Regions from separate parts of the Homo sapiens genome. Here region 1 is linked to region 2. The links are contacts of gene promoters, found by promoter capture Hi-C in blood cells and fetal thymus (Javierre and others, 2016). All regions are on one chromosome and are shown on one strand. Each heading gives the region's core, a stretch centred on a gene start or on the middle of the fragment in contact. The rest is flanking DNA. Distances are from core to core; before and after follow the strand shown.

Region 1 (6,170 bases), core at 711-3,210, 150 kb after region 2:
CTGACCAACATGGTGAAACCCTATCTCTACTAAAAGTACAAGTATTAGCTGGGTATGGTGGCGGACACCTGTAATCCCAGCTACTCGGGAGACCGAGGCAGGAGAATCGCTTGATAGGAGGCGGAGGCTGCAGTGAGCCGAGATTGTGCCACTTCACTCCGGCCTGGGTGACACAGCAAGACTCAGCCAAAAAACAAACAAACAAACGGAAATAACCAATATATCCACAATACCTGCCCCGTTTCCCTTGAAACCCGAGGAAATGTTGGTGAAGCATACAGGGTGATAGAAATGTCAGGAATGCTTATTACTACTGAGCTGTACTGGTTCTAACACAAAGTGAAGAACTCAACCTAAGGAGGAGGAGGGAAACCAGTGGTCCAGTGCTGCCACTAGTCCTGCCTGCAGCCGTACCTCATCGTGTCCCAGCATGCTCAGCAGGAGTGAGACGATGTTTTTCCGGATGACGGCATCCACTTTGGCCCCTGCTCCCTGAATCACAAACCTCAGGGCCTGCAGCATGGTGTCCCTGCAGAAGCAATGCACCGCCTTAAGCCCTGGGTGCCTCCACCACCACCCCTCCTGCCAGCGCAGGCTCGGCCCACAGCAACCCCTGGCCTCCTGGAGGCCACAGTGCTCCCTTGCCAGCGCCGTACCTGACACCTGGGTCCTCCATGGCGCGGATGCCATTGAGCAGCTCTGTGAAGAGGGGGTCCACCTTAATGTGGATGGAAATGAGCTTCCCCAGAGCATCTGCGGCCTTCAGGCGCACCCCCCGGTTGGAGTCCTGCAGGGCTTTGGTGAAAGTGGTCTGCAGCTGGGGCAGGAAGGGCTTCAGGGCAATCCCAACCTGTGGGAGGAACCCACATCCATGAAAGACAGTTGTGGTAGACCCAAAGCCACAGTGTACCACAGGCATGAGAACAAATGACAATCCCAAACCACCACAGCGAGTCCAGCTCTCATACAGGGCTGGGGACAGATAGCCCGTCAGAGAGGCCAAACACAGACAGGTTTCGCTTGGCCTCCTGGTCATATCCAGCATGCTTTGATACACTGGAGGAGCAGGAGGCCGAGGAGGCGGCGGCCGCTATCTGAGGGAGCTGTCTCGCAGCCTTGGCTGCGTTGGGGTTTGGCTTAGTGGAGACCTGTCCATATCGATAAGTGACTCAAATCCTCCTCTGAATACATTAACAAGCAGGGCAGACTATCGGCAGTACTGAAGCACAGTTCTAATGCCAAGACAGGGAAAGGGACTCAGTGTATAATTGCAGAGCCCATCTACTGAGCAACTGACAGCAGGATACGCACTCCACATTCAGCCCTCAGAACAAGCCTGTGAAACAAATGACCTTGGAGAATCCTCCCTGCACAAATGTGTACCCACCTAACTAAAAATCCAGTTCAACCCCTGACTATACAGAAACACAGGCACACTTTTGATACAATACAGGTGGGTCCAAGAGTAAAGATTTACTTACTGTTTTTTGTTTTGTTTTTTTTTTGAGACGGAGTTTCGCTCTTGTTGCCCAGGCTGGAGTGCAAGGCGCGATCTCAGCTCACTGCAACCTCCGCCTCCCGGGTTTAAGCAATTCTCCTGCCTCAGCCTCCTGAGTAGCTGGGATTACAGGCACCCGCCACAATGCCCGGCTAATTTTGTATTTTCAGTAGAGACAGGGTTTCTCCATGTTGGTCAGGCTGGTCTCGAACTCCCGACCTCAGGTAATCTGCCCACCTCGGCCTCCCAAAGTGCTGGGATTACAGGCTTGAGCCACCACGCCCGGCTTACTTATTGTTAATTAGGAAAACCAGAGTGACTGTTTGGAGGTTCAGTGCCAATGAAGGTCTGGAAATACTGGAGTTGGGTGGGTGTGCAGGCTGTGGCAGGCACACAAAGGGGATAGGGGGAGCTGGTAAATCTGAGCTGTGCGAGGTCAGGAGTTCGAGACCAGCCTGGTGAAACCCTGTCTCTACTAAAAATACAAAAAAATTAGCCAGGTGTAGTGGCAGACACCTGTAATCCCAGCTACTTGGGAGGCTGAGGCAGAAGAATTGCTTGAACCCAGGAGGCGGAGGTTGCAGTGAGCCGAGATCGCGCCACTGCACTCCAGCTCTGGGTGACAGAGTTAGACTCTGTCTCAAAAACAAAACAAAACAAAACAAAAAACAAAAAAAAACAAAAACTGCAATATCTTTAAACAATGTTTTCCTTGTATTTACGTGGTCCTGAATTTTTTCCTTTGAAAAAGTAGTTTTTCAAAATAATAGCATTTCACATGTACTGAGTGCTTAGTATGTAGCAGGCATCATGCTGGACATAACCTCATCTAATCCCCATATCTAGCAGCCCTTCATGAGGCAGCTGGTATTATTAGTCTCACATTGTAGGTGAGGAAACAGGCTTAGGTTATATGGCTTTCCCAAGGTCATCCTGGTCACAGAGCTAGTAAGGACGACTTGGAATTGACCCATGGTGTAGCATGTCTGAAGTCCAAGGTCTTACCTCCCTCTGCTATGCGGCTCTCCACAATAAATCTGTTGCCCTGCTGCTACATGACACCTTGTATCAGGCTCCTGCAGACAGACCTGTTCTCTAAGATCTGAACAAACTCATCAGCCACTCACCTTAGCCAACAAGAGGCTGAGTGTCTCGAGCAGAGCCGCCTTCACATTCCAGCTGAACCTGTCCCCCAGGATGCGGATCAGAGGGCCAGTGATGCTGACCACGGAGGGCCTCAGGGCGTCAGCCGAGGTCAGGCGGATTACCAAGCCTAAGGCTTTGGCTGCCTCCTCCTTCTGCTCAGGGCTGCCAGTCAGGACTCCTTCCCGCAACACTGGAAGGATGGAGGTCACTCCCTGACAAGAGAACCACAACTGAGAGTCAAATCTCAAACACCCTGGGCCCTGGTGTCTCCCATGCAAGCAAAGTGGTCCTGACAGCTGTCCTCCCCTCAACTCCATGGGAGATATTGATTTGGGCTGAATCTCAGGATCACAGCCTGAGAGGGCTGGCTATGGAACGGTCTTGGCAGAGAAAAGACGACAAGGGCCCCAACAGGCCTATCACACAGAGAGAACATGCACTGCTGTTACCCTGTGGCCCACTCACTCTGGCCAAGGTGACCTGCAGAGCTTAAACCAAAGGCAGCATGAACCCTGTCCCCATCTGACTGCCATGGAAGAAAACATGCTGTCTGCGAAGGTGCTGAACACCAACCACCACGGCTACTGCTCCAGCAGCCCCTACCGCAGACCTGGGACAGGGGTAAGGGCCAGAAGGGCACAACAGACTGCACGCCCACAGCCCCCTGCACGAGGCCCTGGCTTACCTTCTTCGGGAGGCAGAATCCTGGCACATGCTCGCCTTTGCTCTCGTTCCCTATGAGCCGGATTTCCTTGTGCAGCTCTTCAATGAGTGCCAACTGGTTGCCAGCATCCAGCTTCTGCAGGAATCCAGGAAAAAGCGAGAGGATGTACAGCCCTCTCAAGACTGCTTCCAAAGAATATATGGGGAAAGCGTGGGCGGGAGTATAAACAAGACTTGCCACGAGTGGGTAAACGCCGAAGCTGAGTGACAGGTACGTGGGGGATTCTTATAAGTCTATTCCTGTAAATGTCTGGAATTTTCTAAAAGCAAAAGTTGGCTGTGGGGTCAGCAGTCCCCTCACCTTAGTGATGGCATTTAGGGCATCCCAGCTCTCCTCCAGAACCACAGGGCTGGAGTCATTGAAGAGGCGGATCAGGCCCGAGACCAGGCTCCGCAGGTGGCTGGTGTAGTCAGCCTTTGAGCGGGAACAGTAGATGTTGAGGATGATGGCAGCAGCTTGCCTCATGCCCACCTCAGGGCTGCGGGTGGCCTCCAGCAGATCCTCGATGATGATCCGGTGCCCTGTGTCATCCTCTACGGAGAGGATCACAGCCTGACAATTGGCCATCTCCTGCAAACCACAAGGGACATGTGTGCTGAGCAGGGATCCTCCGGGCAGACGGGACATGAGAAAGCAGGAGCAGGCTCGCCCCTTACCAGCTGCTCATCTGGGGTCCCAAGCTTTTCCTTCAGGGCCAGCATGACCGCTGGGAGGATCACGCCAAGATGACGGGTGAGGGCATCACCAGCCACTGACGAAAGGAAAGCCAGCACCCGGGTGTTGACAGGTGGCGTTGTCAGCTGGTGGAATGACAAACATTAACTCAGTGAATACTGTGCCAGGTGCTGCGCTAGGCTCTGGGAACAGACGGGTGGGCAAGAGAGCCCAAGCCCACTGCTCAGAGCCAAGCATCTACTCCAGCATATCTTGGAAGACAACAGGGGAAGGATGTAATGCTTGCACTGCACCCTCCTCCCCCAGCCCTCCAACATCTACGTTCAGAACTGGTCTTCACTGCAGGCCCTGGAAATGTCAATGCCCTGGAGCCAGAGGGTGTTGACCACATGTTGGGATTTACCTTGGGCACAAGGTAGGGCAGCACCACACGACTCTTAATAGCCATGACTTGCTTCAGACCATCCAAGGCAAACTCTGACACCTCCTCGTCATCCTGCAGAGGGTGTTGGGGACAACCCTGAGGAATCTGCATCTCTGCTGTCTCAACCAGCCACCGCCAACTTCCTTCTCCACTTGTTTCCCTCCCTCCTGTTGCACCCACATTTCCTCACTGCCGAAGGCGAAGCACAAAGCCAAGTCTGATCTTGCTATACCCACTCCCTCTGGAGGGCCCACATTGCGACTGCCTTGGCAGAATAATCGCCCTGTATTTTCCATCTACAAAGACGGCAAAAGCCAAACTGGTAGGTAGGTGTGTGGTAGATCCACTCACCAGCTGCTTTAGTAAAAATGGGAGAATGTCCTCCAGAGCCTGGTGGCCGATGGTGGAATGCAGCTGCTCGAAAGTCTTGGCTGCCGCCTCTCTGACCTCCTCCAGTGGGTCACACAAAGCCTTCCTTGCCGTGGGCACGAGGGATTCAGAGAAATACAGCACCTGCAATGGCAAGCTACAACTGTACCAGATGCAGGAAAGGCAAAGAAGGAGCAGAAGCAGACAAGAAGCACAGGCAGGGGACTCTGACCCAGCTAGGCCACCCTAACTCTCTTTGCCTGACTTGTCTTTTAACTTAACTCTTTACTGTGAAATAAAAAAAAGGAGAGAAGGGGCCGGGCACGGTGGCTCACACCTGTAATCCCAGCACTTTGGGAGGCCAAGGTGGGCGGATGACTTGAGGCCAGGAGTTCGAGACCAGCCTGGTCAACATGGCAAAACCCTATCTCTACTAAAAATACAAAAATTAGCTGGGTGTGGTGGTGCACACCTGTAATCCCAGCTACACAGGAGGCTGAGGCACAAGAATCGCTTGAACCCAGGAAGCAGAGGCTGTAGCCAAAAGAGATGGTGCCCCTGTACTCCTGCCTGGGCAGCAGAGTGAGATTGTCTTAAACTAAAAATTTTAAAAAAATTAAAAAGTAGAGAGGGGCCGCGCACAGTGGCTCACGCCTGTAATCCCAACACTTTGGGAGGTGGAGGCAAGAGAATCACTTGAGGCCAGGAGTTTGAGACCAGCCTGGGCAACATAGTGAGACCTCACCTCTACTAAAAATGCAAAAATTAGCTACGTGTGGTGGTGCACACCTATAGTCCCCAGCTACTCAGGAGGCCATAGCGAGAGGATCACTTGAGCCCAGAAGGTCAAGGTTACAATGAGCTATGATCGCACCACTGCACTCCAGCCTGGGTGACAGAGTAAGACCCCGTCTCAATAAAAAAAAAAAGCAGAGAGGATGTGATGCACCCCCATGTATCCTTCACTGAGACTTAATAATCAACAGCTTGAATCTTTTAGGTGAATTCTCAATATACCTCCCATCTTCTCTAAGAACTGCAAACTCCTTCCCATGGCATCTGGCCCCCTCTCTCCCTGGACTCTTTCTTTTGCTTATTCTCTTGGAAAACTCCAAGTCCTTCTTCAAGTCTCAATCCAGACTTTGTGCTCTATGAAGTCTTTGGGTCTACAATGGAGCCAATAATGGCTCTGCTCCCTCAGTAACGATCCCAGCACAGCAAAGCCCACTCTGCATTCTAATGACTGGTTGGCATGTGGGCCTTGCCATTGGACTGTGGGGACTTTGCAGACAAGAACTCAGCCTCTGTGGAACTCTACCTCTCCAATGAATCAC
Region 2 (6,288 bases), core at 688-3,187:
AACACTTATTATTCATTCTTTAACAAGAAGGGAAGCTTTGAAGAGGAAACTTTACTTTCTACATTGTCCAAGCTGGTCTTGAACTCCTGGGCTCAAGCAATCCTCCTGCCTCAGCCTCCCGAAGTGCTGAGATTATAGGCAGGAGCCACAGAGCCTGGCCCTGTTTGTTCTTGATGTGTCTCCAGACATATTAGGGAGAAATTTGTCCTTCTGTGATTCAAATAAGACAAAAGGAAGTGGCAATTGGATCTCACCTCTGGCCCACAATTCCAGCTCAAGGTGGGAGGTCATAATAAAAAGTGTTAGAACATTTCCTTGCTGGAATGGTAACATGGTCAACTGCAGAAATTTAGCTCTAAGATTGATGTGGGAATCCCTCAACTGTCTGTCTCCTTTCCAGTCAACAAGTGAACAATGCCAGCCCTGAGGCCCAGGAGCTTTTCAGATTCTGGCCTTCAGTCTAAGGGTAACGATGTTAAAACTTGAATATTGTTTAGGCTCTGAATTTAATAAGCGATAAAAACCATGAGAAACTATTTGACCCATTTCAGCCTCTTGATGTTCTGAAATTTCCATCTCACTGGGATGAAAAGAAGAAAGGCATGATCCAAGTAAAAAATGGGTTGTCTGTCCAAGAGGAAAAGGAAGCATAGGGACGAATTCTAGCTTTAGATGGGATTGTTTCTGGAAATAGGAGACACGTAGCACCACCAACGAGGTCAACACCAAGGAATGACTGCAAGTCACCCAGTAGGCTCTCCAAACCTTCCTTTAATCATTGAGGAAATGTTCCTTCCATATCCACCCAATCCATCTTGGTCACAAAGGACCATTTATCTTCCTCAAGACTGCTTCTATGTGAAGAAAATAAAGAATAATGATTCACGTGATCCCTGGCGTCGGCCTGGCTAGATCTCAATCCTGACTCTACCAGTTGTAATGACCTGGGCAGACGATGCCATCTCTCAGGCTTTAATTTCCTTCTCTGTTAAAATGACAAGCGGCAGTACTGATTTTATAAAGTTCTTGTGAGGATTATCTAAAATAATGACTATCAAGCACTTAATACAGGACATGGCACACACTGAGTGCCGAATAAACGGTAGTTATTATTAGGGAGGTTCTTTGCTTCGTATTCCCATCTGTGAGCAGTTTTTTCCGTTATTTCTCCGCAGAAACCCTTTCTCTCCGGGCTGCTGATCTGCGAAGCATCTGGTCCTTCATATCCCTGAGTCATCAGCATGAAGATGCCTGGTTTCCGAAGTCCTCCCTCCTCCTACTGCTCTCTAGGGCTCCCTCTCCTGACTGCTTAGTTCTCCTGGGGGCCCAGACCTAAATTTCGTGAGGGTATGTCTTTCTCGGGGCCGGGTCACCAGTCTTGGAGGAATGTCCTCAGTCCCCTTTGCCCCAGACACCACCAGAGATGCGGCAACAGAACTCTGAGGCGCGCCCCGGCTTCCAAGTAGCTGGGGGCGGGGCCGCGCCTGGAGGTGAGCAGCAGGCGGTGGGCGGGGCCGCGCTCCGTCCGAGGTGAGAGCGAGGCCGGGTGCGAGGCCACACCCCGAGGTACGAGAGCTGAGGGCGTGGCCACACCCCAGCTCTGAGCGAGGCTGAGGGCGGAACCGCACCCCGAAGTGGGTGCAAGGCTGGGGGCGTGGCCGCGCGGTGAGGCAGCCAGGACCGTGAGGGATGCGCCAGCCGCCTCCGCAGGCGGCGCGCGCAGCCGCCCGCAGGGCGTGAGGCAGAGCAGGGGTTAAGGCCGCCGGCGCCACCTGGGCGTCGCTGAGGAGACCCGCGAGCCGGCGAATCCCGCGCGGGCGGGGCGAACAGGTGCCCGCGCGCGTCAGGCGCCGGCAAGGGGCGGGGCGAGGGGACGCGGCCGGAAGCCCGGGGCGGGGCGCTGCCGGCCCGGTGAGCCGGGAGGAGCCGGGGAAGGCAGGAAGGAGCTCGCCGGGTTGCGCGGCGCGCGATGTGGAGCCGCCGCCTCGGCCCCTGCAGCAGCAGCAGCCGCCGTCGCCGCCGCTGCTGCTGGGGCTGCCGCGGAGCCGGGGGTCATGGAGTGCGGCTGCAGAGAGCGGCCGCCGGCAACAGCAGCAGCAGCAGGAAGCGTCGCGGCGACAGCGGAGCGCAGCCCGCCCCGTGAGGCGCTGCCCGGCCGGCGGCGGCAGCAGCAGCAGCAGCGGCAGCGGCAACAGGGCGGCTGAGAACCCGGCGGCGGCGTTCCTCCTCGCTTCCTCCCCTCCCGCTTCGCCGACCCTCAGTCTCTGTTCCTGAGTCCTCCCTTCCCCAGCCTTCCCGTTCCCACCACCTACTCCGCCACTACCCCCACCCCCTCCTCCCGCGCGCGCCTGAGCAGCTGAGCCCGGGGGCGGGGGAGGGGGCGCGTGCCGCCGGCGCGGGGGAGGGGCGGGCCGGCGCGCGCCGCGCCCAGGGCTCGCGGGGACCCGGGGGCGCGTGCCGCGGCGCGAGGCGAGGCGCGGGACGCGGGGCGGCGCGGCAGGGCCCCTCCCCCCTGCAGCCTGGCGCGCGCGGGCCGGGCCGCACCGCTGCGGGCTCCGCGCGCGCGGGCCATGTCCGCTTTCTGCCTGGGCTTGGTCGGCCGCGCTTCAGCACCCGCCGAGCCGGACAGCGCCTGCTGCATGGAGCTGCCCGCCGCGGCCGGGGACGCAGTCCGGAGTCCCGCCGCCGCCGCCGCCCTCATCTTCCCCGGGGGCTCCGGGGAGCTAGAACTGGCGTTAGAGGAGGAGCTGGCGCTGCTGGCGGCCGGGGAGCGGCCGTCCGACCCCGGGGAACACCCTCAGGCCGAGCCTGGGTCTCTGGCCGAGGGGGCCGGACCGCAGCCGCCGCCCTCCCAGGACCCCGAGCTGCTGTCGGTGATCCGACAGAAGGAGAAGGATCTGGTGTTGGCGGCCCGGCTGGGTAAGGCGCTGCTCGAGAGGAACCAGGACATGAGCCGGCAGTACGAGCAGATGCATAAGGAGCTGACAGACAAGCTCGAGGTGAGGACCTCCCTCCAGGGATGGGTGGGGAGCAGGGGCCGCCCAGGCACGCGCCCGGCCCTGGGCAGTTAGGGAACCACTCACCCCCACTTCGTTGCTCACCCTACCTCGCAGAAAATCTGGAATGAATGGGGGAGGGAGGATGGAGGATTATCAGATTTCGTTGAACCCACTTGACTTCCCCACCCCGCTCACAGCAAATGGGTCCATGCGTGGCTCCAGCCGCTGTGGGCCGTTCTATATACGTACTGTACCCAGCATCTAAAATAGAGCTTACAGTATGACTATATAGCACTGAGGTGATGTCTGCATACAGAGAAATGAGGAAGTCGGGAAGCATTTAAAATATGTTGCAGGTTTTCAGAGCAGTTAATCTCTAATCAGGGTGTTAGCCTAAAGCCTTCCAGTTTGGGCGTTAAGGCCTTTAGATGCCCTTGTCTTAACTTCCTGGCAGCTCAGAGTTGTGGGAAACAAGTGCCCCTAAAGGAGCTTTATATAGCCTTCAAATGCTCAGGGATTAGGAAATGTGGTTCCATTGCAGAAATCAGGCGAGCCAGGGCTCAACATGTGACCGCTGGTAGTGGATTTAATTTGGGCCTCAGTATTTATGTGTATTTAAACAGTACTTTTCTGTGTTCTGGGTCTCAGGCTTGCAATTGAATGACCAAATGCAACCTATGAGAACCATATTACTTTAACTTCTGTTATAAAATACCTGTTAAGGTATCCGTAATATTTCTGCCAGTTCTCTAGGCAGTCTTTCAGAGTTGTTTGTTTTCTTGCCCTTAACTAGAAAAGGGCCTTGAATGCAGTACAGAATGCCAGCATTTCTAAAAATTAGATTGCAAAAAAAAGGGGCAGGGGGATGGGGAGAGGGAGTCACCTGTGACTTACCTTTCCTGCCTGTGCGTTTACTATTATTGTTACCTAGTTTGGTTGCAGCCAGCTCTTTTCATTCTTAGTTACAGCAAGACAATAGTACAGACCTGAATGAGGTTTGAAATTGACCCTAGTCAGGTTCCGTATCTCTGCTACTGGTTGAACAGTCAGAATGGAAATTCAGAAATATTCTGTAATAAGATTTAAGTATGCCTATAGTCCAGCGACGTAAAAGTAAATCCGGGAGAAAAAAAGGAAACCTGTGAGTGCCCTGTAGTTCGGTTGTCCTGCTAACTAGGTCTGCCAGTCGATGAACTCCTGAGATACCTCTCTGAAAAGTCGTTTGTGAAACCTATAGGTAGACTGCCAAAAAGCAGCCTAATGAATTGAATTGTTTAATTTTCACTTGAAGTAGAGGTCTAGAAATAAAAAGCCTTCCTTTTTTTTTTATAAAGAGATTCAGTTGTACGACTTTGTAAAGAAGTACAACTACAGAGATTTATACTTGTGATTTGAAATTTCTTCAGTGAAGGACTTGATTGAAGAGACAGCTGACTTGAAAGGAGCACCGTATCAGTTTGATTAGTGCCAGATTTCATAGTAATCCTGAGTGTGCAATTACATACATTCTGGGTTCCATGTGGAGCCTTTATACATTTCTTCAACATAGGGCAAAGATTTCAGAATGGTAACAAAAAAAGGTTGTATTGTAAAAGAATAAATTATCTTTGACATTTTGTTATTTACTTAATGGACAACAATAGTTTAAAACTCTTTAAACTATTTTTTAAAACCTTCATTCCTCTGCAGGTCAGCATATGAACTCTAGTTTTAAAAGTTCAATTTTAAGTTCTGGAGATAGTCGCACAACAATGTGAATATAACTAACATATACTTAACATATACTTACAGGCCAAATATTGATCATTGTTGAAACTCAGTGATGAGGGGAGTCAGTTATATTATTTCTTATAGGTAGGTTTGAAAATTATAAAAAATTTTAAAGTTTTAAAAATGTTCATTAAAGATACTAAGAGAGTACCATTAGTTGCTTGTTAATCTTTCTAGTGTTAATGTGAGAGTGACAAACCTGGTTTACAGAGTACTGTTTTATTTGACACCTCCGGTTTAGTTTTCCCCACAGTACATTGTTTGAACAATGTAGGTTTTAGAATGTCTGTTTAGACAATACTTTCTAACGTTCAGTACAAACTGCTGTACTTTGTACTTTTTTCTTTTTTAGACAAGATCTCACTCTATCCCCCAGGCTGCAGTGGAGTGGCTGATCATGGCTTACTGCACCCTCAAGTGACCCTCCCACTCAGCCTCCTGAGTAGCTGGGACTACAGGCGCCTACTACACACCTGGCTAATTTTGTAAAAATGTTTCGTAGAGATGGGGTCTCACTATGTTGCCAAGGCTGGTCTCAAACTACGGGGCTCAAGCAGTCCTCCTGCCCTGGCCTTCCAAAGTGGTGGGATTACAGGAGTGAACCATTGAGCCTGGCCTGTATTTTCAATTAAATCAAACACTTGGGAGTATAAAACCAGTACTTTAAGACGCATTTATTCATGAGAGAACTTGACCAGAAAAAAAAAATTTATAATCTTCCACAAACTGTCGGACATTTGGAGTCAAACACATTTTCTTACAGGGTGGTTTGAAAGAGAAACATGTGAGTGGACTGAGGGAATGCCACTTTCACTATTGAATAATGAGACTGGTTTTATTTTAATCCCATCTTCTCTACTACTTCAAAATTGGCACCTTTCTTCCACCCCCCCACCCTGCCCCCCAGATGGAGTCTCGCTCTGTCGCCCAGTCTGGAGTGCAGTGGCGCAATCTCAGCTCACTGCAAGCTCCACCTCCCAGGTTCATGACATTCTCCTGCCTCAGCCTCCTGAGCAGCTGGGACTACAGGCGCCCGCCACCACGCCTGGCTAATTTTTTTTTTTTTTTTGTATTTTTAGTAGAGACGGGGTTTCACCATGTTAGCCAAGATGTTCTCGAGCTCCTGACCTCGTGATCCGCCTGCCTCGGCCTCCCAAAGTGCTGGGATTACAGGCATGAGCCACTGCGCCGGGCCGGCACCTTTCTAATGTCGGGACAAACAAGGCATTTTCAAGATCTTTTCTACCTATTCATTAGTTAATACTAAATACCTCTCTGGTTCTGTGTGCCAAGCCCAAGATTTTGTTGTTTTCATTTCAAACATTAAAGTACTTGATGCTACACTATTGTGTCATTAAAGGCATACTATTAATATTTAAAGTCTTCAGTGGTTTAAAGGTTAACAGAAGTTTTTTAGTTATATGTCTCTTGGGGTTAAAATGAAAATTCAGGTTAATTGGAAAAACTGTAAGGTTTGGGCCATTTTTTCCGCTCTTGAATTGACTCTGTATTTTGTTAC

Evidence for each region. The method cuts DNA at HindIII sites, captures the fragments that hold promoters and counts their contacts. A CHiCAGO score of 5 or more calls a contact.
Region 1: a contact is called between a fragment that was not itself captured here and the fragment with the promoter of BICDL1 in region 2, in 1 of 17 cell types (activated CD4 T cells). The highest score is 5.7, in activated CD4 T cells.

The regions. Positions count from the first base shown.
Region 1 is chr12:120,133,877-120,140,046 of GRCh38, forward strand. It overlaps GCN1 (GCN1 activator of EIF2AK4), which reads right to left. Exons shown (of 58, transcript NM_006836.2): 46 at 4,819-4,980; 47 at 4,447-4,539; 48 at 4,025-4,168; 49 at 3,669-3,938; 50 at 3,330-3,443; 51 at 2,626-2,856; 52 at 657-850; 53 at 415-529. Among named protein-coding and RNA genes, the nearest start is that of MIR4498, 19 kb to the right of the region's middle. The HindIII fragment of the contact is 4,171 bases long and covers 1-4,046 here.
Region 2 is chr12:119,987,299-119,993,586 of GRCh38, forward strand. BICDL1 (BICD family like cargo adaptor 1) reads left to right here and starts at 1,938. Exons shown (of 10, transcript NM_001367886.1): 1 at 1,938-2,999. The coding sequence starts at 2,571. RefSeq lists silencers at 1,486-1,545, 1,566-2,205, 2,486-2,575, 2,626-2,695, 2,706-2,915 and 1 more and enhancers at 1,609-2,582, 2,583-3,554. The HindIII fragment of the contact is 12,107 bases long and covers 34-6,288 here.